2 separate regions of the Homo sapiens genome follow, and region 2 is linked to region 1. The links are contacts of gene promoters, found by promoter capture Hi-C in human tissues and cell types (Jung and others, 2019). All regions are on one chromosome and are shown on one strand. Each heading gives the region's core, a stretch centred on a gene start or on the middle of the fragment in contact. The rest is flanking DNA. Distances are from core to core; before and after follow the strand shown. Region 1 holds the start of PSMD1 (proteasome 26S subunit, non-ATPase 1). Region 2 has its middle 35 kb from the start of LINC01907.

Evidence for each region. Contacts are between HindIII fragments. The study calls those that stand out against the background at their distance.
Region 2: a contact is called between a fragment that was not itself captured here and the fragment with the promoter of PSMD1 in region 1, in 1 of the 25 tissues and cell types used here (bladder).

Annotation. Positions count from the first base shown.
Region 1 is chr2:231,054,554-231,058,683 of GRCh38, forward strand. It overlaps PSMD1 (proteasome 26S subunit, non-ATPase 1), which reads left to right and starts at 2,314. Exons shown (of 25, transcript NM_002807.4): 1 at 2,314-2,488. The coding sequence starts at 2,473. LOC112268432 (a long non-coding RNA gene) reads right to left here and starts at 3,193. Exons shown (of 2, transcript XR_002959456.2): 1 at 2,784-3,193. RefSeq lists a silencer at 2,215-2,404. The HindIII fragment of the contact is 12,128 bases long and covers 1-4,130 here.
Region 2 is chr2:230,663,203-230,667,332 of GRCh38, forward strand. No RefSeq gene overlaps it. Among named protein-coding and RNA genes, the nearest start is that of LINC01907, 35 kb to the right of the region's middle. RefSeq lists enhancers at 339-528, 3,216-4,081, 4,032-4,130. The HindIII fragment of the contact is 5,990 bases long and covers 1-4,130 here.

The sequences.
Region 1 (4,130 bases), core at 1,064-3,563:
TCTGATGTCTGTGTCCAAGCTACTTACCTTTTGCCCATCTCACAGGTTCACGTGAGGCTCACATGGGGTTGTGGCAATGACACACACAGCATCCAAGTGGAAGACAGGATTGTCCTCTCATACAGAATGACTTCTCCTTGAAGAGCAGAGGTGGCATGTTGACCACCTCTCTGTTTTAAAACATGTTGAATTAGTAGCCAACATGTAAAATTCTGGAGATGTTGCATGAAATTCTGATTTCTGGCTTCTCTTAGAAAAAACATGTCTTCCAACAGTCACCCTGCATTCTTGGCAGGAACTGAGTAGCAGTTGCTCTGTTTAGCAGTTGCTCTCTTTAGATGGGGCACTCACTTTTTTTTTTTTTCTTTTTAGACGGAGTCTCACTCTGTCGCCAGGCTGGAGTGCAATGGTGTGATCTTGGCTCACTGCAACCTCCACCTCCTGGGTTCAAGCGATTCTTCTGCCTCAGCCTTCTGAGTAGCTGGGACTACGAGTGCCCGCCACCACACCTGGCTAATTTTTGTTTTTAGTAGAGACGGGGTTTCATCATGTTGGCCAGGCTTTGGTCTCGAACTCCTGACCTCAGGTGATCCGCCCACCTCGGCCTCCCAAAGTGCTGGGATTACAGGTGTAAGCCACCGCGCCCGGCCAGGAATTCACTCTTCATCACTGTCCCCACCACCCCCTAGTGCCTCCTTGACACTGTTAGTTGCCATTCACCATCCTGTGGAGCTTGTATTTTCTTTCGCTGGTCCTGCTTTACTCATTTTCATTACCTGTTGGCATTTGTTTGTGACTCCTCTAGGGGTTTGGGGAATACAACTGTCTTCATGTGAGGGCTTGGTAGAAGTGCCTCTGTAGAGCCAGGTGCAGTGACTCACATCTTTAATCCCAGCATTTTGGGAGGCCGAGGCGGGCGGATCATGAGGTCAGGAGATCGAGACCATCCTAGCTAACATGGTGAAACCCTGTCTCTACTAAAAATACAAAAATTAGCCGGGTGTGGTGGCATACACCTGTAGTCCCAGCTACTTGGGAGACTGAGCAGGAGAATCGCTTGAACCCAGGAGGCGGAGGTTGCAGTGAGCCGAGATCGCGCCATTGCCCTACAGCCTGGGTGGCAGAGGGACACTCCATCTCAAAAAAAAAAAAAAAGAAGTACCTCTGTAGAATGACACCCCAAGTAATCTGTTTACTTTGCATGCACATCTTCTCGAGCCCTGCCTTTCAATCTGAGCCACAGGCTCTTCAAAAATGTTCAATAATTATATTTAATATATTTTAAACAACCACAGTTTAAGAATTCTAATTTAAACAAAAAAAGTCACAGATACAACAAAATGTGTTATCAAGCACATTTAATTCACTGGCAACCACAAGACATTGATTGTGCCCCTAGGTTACGTAGAAGGCCGTAGAAATGAACTCGCCATCGCTGTGCGATTGAAGAGTTTAGCTTGATAGTGCAAGGCCGGTGGCTGAAAAAAATGCTACCGTTTGCCCTATTCCTTGTCAAGACTTTCTCAGTACTGACTCTTGAAATAAATTGACTTCTTGAAGCTAGCATAAGACTGCAAATGGCCATTGCAACTGCCATTTCAAATTTCTGAAGATGTATTAGAAACGAAGAACCCACTGCCGTCGGGGGAAAGAGGACCTGGGCAGATAGAAGGAAAGAATGGAAGACATTTTTTCTCCCTTGGAAAGGCTTTCGCCATATAACTACTGCACATTTTAATATATTGACAACACTGGACATTTTTCCAAAAGTAAGTAAAAACCTTCATTGTTCAACTTTATAATAAGCCAATGATTACTTGTGGATTCATTATGATAATAAAGCACTTCTATGGGGATTTTCTTTTTTTTATGATAGGTTTTGCTTTAGAAAACAATTGAAAGCCACTTTTCTGGGAAAAAAAACAAAAAACAAAAAAAAACGCTGTTTGCGGCAGCCCCAATTCCCTAAGCATTATCTGGTGGGAGATGTGTTGCAGCGAGACCTCCCACCAGTAGGTGGCACTGCGCGCAATGCTCGCACCTCCCCTCAACACCCTTTCTCTCAGCAATGGCGGGTGATGGTGGGGGTCCTCTCTTTGCAGGGCTGGCCATTCTAATGCCTGACCTCAGGTGCAGACCAGTGTTCCGTTGCGCGGGACTCCTGACCTCGAGGAGGTTTAGAGAAAACAATGGTGTTCTCTGTGTACCCTTCCGCGAGGGCTGGGGAGTATACCGCCGCGCAGAAGACGCAGGCCAGGGGAGAATTCGCGCCGGGCGGCAGGCGGGGTGGCGGGCAGCCCCTGGGCGGGCGGGGTCCTGGCGAGAAGCGAGCCGGCGGCCTGAGGAGGCGACTGACTGAGCAGCGCACCCGGGGAGCAAGGAGGCGCGGTGAACTGAGCGGCCCCTGAGCTGACAGATACACTGCGCAGCTGGAACGGCGAGCGAGCCGACGGGCGAGTGAGGGGCGCAGCCATGATCACCTCGGCCGGTGAGTGCGGCCCGTAGCCAGCGCCTGGAGGGAGGAGCCGCCGCCGCGCCGGCTTTTAGCTGAGTCAGGGCCGGTGACTGGGCGCCTCCCGGCGGAACGCCGGCCTGGGCAGCTTCTTGCTGCCCAGGGCCCACCCCCGGGCCGGGGGGCTGGGAGTCTGATCAGGTCACTGCGTGCTTCTCTGGCTTGAGGGAATCGAGCCGGGTCGACCGCCTCGGCATCCCTCCCCAATCACACCCCAGCGCCAGGACCCGAGGGGCTTCCTGGGCCTTCCCCTGACCCCAGAAGGGCTTACCTTTTTTCTGTGCCTCCCATTCTTGGCCGTGTGAGGTCGTCCAGCCCCAGTTCTTGCCCGCAGGGGGCCGGGGTGGGATGGGCCCCTGTGCCATTGAACAGTAAGGCAAACCCCCCTGATCGGGCAGCCTAACTGCTACAGAAGTGTTTCTGGACGTGGCCGAGCTCCATTCGCCTTAGAATGAAACCCGAAATTAGGTTTGAGGTGGGTCATTTCTGGGTCCGATCCAAGGGTGTTCATTCAAAACACCCAGAGAACTTTTGGGTTCGGCGAAGACCCTAAAGACGCCCTGGAGATACCTTTATACTGAGAGCCTACTTATACCCTTTCGAGGTTATGTGCTCAGTCTGTTGACTGTACATTCAAGAAAGAATGGATGGATCTGCGGAGCAGGTTTCATACGCGCAAACCATTGCATAGGTAGATTCACGTAGTGACATTTGCAATGGAGTAAGTTACAGAGATCAAGTTTCAATTGGAGACTTAAGCTCCCCGTTACAGATTGACTTGCATATAGCTGTCCAGAGCCTTGGTGCTTTTTTCCGTTGCCTATTTACATACCCTTTTCTCATTTTCTTACTCTGTGTTTGACCCACAAAGAAAGCATTTTATTGTAAACAAACTGGTGAGCAGAAGACAGTAATCTGAATGGTAAGGCGATCAAAACTTTATTTTTATGAGGATTGGTTAAGGAGATCGTTGGAGATACTGGGAGACGTAGTTACTTTCAAACATTTGAAGAGCTGTCACTTGTACCTGAAATAAGACTTTTTGTCCCCAAGAGATACAAGTGATCGCGAGATGAATTTTAGTTCAGTATCAGGAAGTTTTTCCAGTCAGAGCTTTGTAAAGATCAAATAAACACTCAGTTTCTTGCCACCTATAGGCCTCATTCTATTTCAAATCCATCCATTACCAATGTTTCTTCTAACTCGGCCCAAACCACCTTCATCTCTTGTCTGGGTTACTATATCAGCCTTAAGGCTTTGTTTTCGACCATTACCTCCGTACAGCCCGTTTTTCTTGTGGACTATGCTTTTTAAAACTTTAATCACATAATACTTCTTTGCTTACAATCCACCAGTGCTTACATTGTGTTTAGAGCAGCCGTGTCCAACCCTTTGAATTCGAGGACTTTTTTTCTTACTGTGGTGGTCGGACATCGTGAAAATTATATACAAACCTTTTTTTTTTTTTTTAAGCTCATTAGCTATCATTAGTGTTAGTGTATTTTATGTATGCCCCAAGATACTTCTTCCATTGTGGCCCAGGGGAGCCAAAAGGTTGGACACCCCTGGCATACAGTAAAATCCAGACTCTTAACCAAGGACCCACATGATCTGATTC
Region 2 (4,130 bases), core at 639-3,138, 390 kb before region 1:
TACTCCTGCGGGCCATCACCTCTGTGCAGTGGGGTCAGGGTAGAGGCATGGCCCAAGGTCAGCCACCCATGGGCTGGGCTGCCCTAGGCTAGCTGGGGTGGGTGCTGGGCTTTCAGAAGTAGCTACCAGATTTTGCATGAGATGACCTGGGTATCAATTAGGACTGTGTTCACCTGCATGTAACTAAAAACTAGAGTAACAGGGATTTTTTTTTTTTTTTTTTTTTTTTTTTTTTTTTTTTGTCTCATACAAAAAAGGAAGTTTAGAGTTGGCAGTCAAGGGCTGGTACCATCGCTTAGGGGTCAGCCAACATCAGGACTCCTCCTGTTCTCCTCCACCACACTTAGCATCTGGCTTTTCCCCTCATGGTTGAATATGGCTGCTGCACCTCCAGGCGTCCAAACTGTCTTCCAAAAAGTTAGAAGGAGAAAACGATGAAGTCAAAGATCAAAGAGAAAGGGCTAAAGAGCATGCCAGTTGAATCTGTTTCTTTTTAAATATCCACCCACCAGTCAGGCATGGTGGCTCATGCCTATAATCCCAGGACTTTGGGAGACCGAGGTGGGTGGATCATCTGATGTCAGGAGTTTGAGACCAACCTGACCAACGTGGTAAAACCCCATCTCTACTAAAAAGAGAAAAAATTAGCTGGGTGTGGTGGCGGGGGCCTGTAATCCCAGCTACTCGGGAGGCTGAGGCAGGAGAATCACTTGAATCCACGAGGCAGAGATTGCAGTAAGCTGAGATCGCGCCATTGCACTCCAGCCTGGGCAACAAGAGTGAAACTCCAGCTCAAAAAATAAAACAAAAAAAAAAGTAAATTTCCACCCACTGACTCCTGCTCTTATTCCACTGGGCAGAACTAGGTCAACATGACCACCACTACATACAAAGGATCCAAGGAAGTAGTTGAGCTGGACACCTTGCCACCCCCCAAAGGCAGGATGCTGTTAGTAAGGAAGAAGGGGAAACTAGATACTGGGTAGGTGCCCAGCATATGCTCTCAGCTGAGCTCAAGTGCAGTGAGGGTGGGCGGTGCATCACAGCCCTGGCCCAGGGCCACCCCCAGGACTGGGAGGAGAGCCCAGAGCTGAGAGGGGCAGAGCCTGGGCTGCAGGTCTCTGAGTCTGCATGGTATGGGCAGTCTAGTGGTGGGAAGATTTTCTCCCTCCCCCTCCCCACTCACTTATGTGCACCGGCATCCACGCAGCCTCCACTTTCACAGGCTGAGGTGCTGTCTCATTTCTCTCACCCTCTGCCACACCACCCCTTGGGTCTCCCTGACATTGCGCTGCTTTCTCAGGCCTTGGCTGGAGCACAGTGCAGAGGGGGTGGGGATGGGGGAGCACTCCTCATCGCTGCTTTTCAGAGGATCCCCCTCCACTCTTCAAAAGAAAGGATGGGAAGTGGGGTGTGGGGCTGTGTGCTAAGGAAGGCTCTCCTTCCAGCTTCTACTGCCTGCCCCCCACCTCAGGATCAGAAGTGGGGGGCTCCAAGGGCCCCTCATTCCAGAGCCCATGGGCTAAAGCAAGTAAAGATGAGTGAGGATTAAAGCAAAAGGCAAACATGAGGACACAGAGCCTGCCCTCCCTGTCGCAGCAACCTGGTGAGGATGAACTCAGAGGCTGGCCCTAGTGGTGGAAAGTTAAGGAAAGACTGCCAGAAGATGAATGCCAAAAACCTAGGGCTCCCCTTCTTCCTCCCCATATCCAAGCCCTCATCCTCCTTAGACATACATCCAGAGTCTGACTGCTCCTCCCGCCTCCACAGCCACCACCCTGGTCCATCCTTTGTCCCGACTCACGTAGATCATGACATCTCTCTCCTTCCTGCACGTCCAGCCGCCCCAACCACCCTCATCACACAGCCAGACCAGCCCTCTCGTGTTTCCCAAATCTCCATGATGGCTCACAGGTTCCCATGGATTCCTGTGGACTCCCAGGATCACTTCAGCCACAGGGAAGTGTGCTCCTGACTCAGGGCCTTTTCATTTCTGGTACCTTCTGCCTCGGAGGCCCTTCCCCCTGGAGCCCTGGGCTGACTCCCTTACCCTTCAGACTTTCACTAGCATCTACCAGAGCCTTCCTCTGACCTCCCTGTGTTAATGACAACAGCTCTCCACCCTGCTGCATACCCTAACATGCTGAGCAGCTTTCTTTTCTCCACACCACGTGTTGCCACCAGACAAAAGTGCTACAAGCTCCTGGAGGGAGGGACCAGGTCTATAGTTCACTGCCATATCCACAGTCCCTCATGTACTCCCTCAGTGCTTGCTGAGTGAGTGAGTGAATGAATGAATGAGCGAACCACAAGAATATTATTTGACCTCAAGAACACCGCAGGAACTGGCAGGGGGACCATGATCTTCCTGAACGCTCTGCATGAGATGACTTGGCAGATCCCACGGACTTGCCTTCTTAAAACCACCCTGGAGGCCGGGCACGGTGGCTCATGCCTGTAATCCTAGCACTTTGGGAGGCCGAGGTGGGCTGATCACGTGAAGTCAGGAGTTCAAAACCAGCCTGGCCAACATGGTGAAACCCCATCTCTACTAAAAATACAAAAAAAAATTTGCCTGCATGGTAGCGGGTGCCTGTAATCCCAGCTACTTGGGAGGCTGAGGAAGGAGAATTGCTTGAACCCTGGAGGCAGAGGTTGCAGTGAGCCAAGATTGCACCACTGCACTCCAGCCTGGGTGACAGAATGAGACTCCATCTCAAAAAAAAAAAAAAAAAAAAAAACCCACCCTGGAAACAGGGAGAGAATCAGAGCGAAAGCTTCCAGTTCAAACGCAGGTTGAGAATGAGGTTTGCAGAGCCAGCGGGCAGTGAGTGCTGACCGAGAAGACCCATGGCGGCCCACTGCAGTGGGGGCGGCGGCAGTGTGACCTTGTTGAAACTAGCCGCTCCAGTGACCCAAGGCTGGGGGAGATTTGGCTCTGCTACTTTCCAGCACTGTGAGCTTGGGAGCCTTACCTGCTCCGAGCTTCAGTTTCCTTACTTGTATAATGGGGATTAAATAACACACTTTTTTTTTTTTTGAGATGGAGTCTCACTCTGTTGCCCAGGCTGGAGTGCAGTGGCACTATCTTGGCACTATCTGCAACCTCCGACTCCCGGGTTCAAGCAATTCCCCCGCCTCAGCCTGCCCAGTAGCTAAGATTACAGACACACGCCACTACGCCCAGCTAATTTTTGCATTTTGGGTAGAGACGGGGTTTCACCATGTTGGCCAGGCTGGTCTCGAACTCCTGACCTCAAGTGATCCACCCACCTCGGCCTCCCAAAGTGCTGGAATTACAGGTGTGAGCAACCACGCCCAGCCCTAACACACTTTCTTTATTGCCCTTGAATCAACCGCATTCCAAGGCCAACGTCATTTGGAAAGGTTGACCTAGATTTCCTTTTCCATCTCCACTGGGACCTCCCCTTTCACCCACCGGAACCCAGGAGGCTCTGATGCCTTGAACACACAGAAGGGCTCCTAATCTTTTGTACATCAAAGTCGCCCCAGCTTCTTTGCTGCCCAAGCTCACTGGTGTGGTTTCCTAATGTCCCCGACAGTTTGGGAGATCTCTGCCAAGGCTGGCCACCTGGTACCAGCCCAGGTGCCCCACCTGTCTCCCACCCCCAGGTCTCTGGTCACCTCCTGGATACTGTGAGTACTGGAGAACTTGCTGCTTGGGGACACCAGCACTCTCTCCCCTGAGGGCTGGGGCATATGCTCTCCAGACCCACCTTTCTCCTTCCCTCTCAGGACCCCTGGAGTGATCTCATCAACATCTGGCTTAACTCATCAGGGGATTTTCTGCAAGTGAGAAGGCTAATGCCTCTGGGGCCAGGCAGGCCTGGTGAATGTATGACAAAACTGCAGGGCATGGTAGGAGCGTGTACTGGTTTTCTAGGGCGCCGTAATGAAGTACACACAAACTGGGTGGCTTAGAACAATGGAACTGTGTCGACTCACAGGTCTGGAAGCCAGAAGCCTGAAATCGAGGTGTTAGCAGCACCATGCTCCCTCCAAAAGCACTGGGAAGGATCCATTCCAGGCCTCTCCCTGAGTTTCTGGGGGTTGCTGGCCGTTTTTGGCATTCCTTGGCTTGGAGACACGTCACCCAGTCTCTGCCTTCA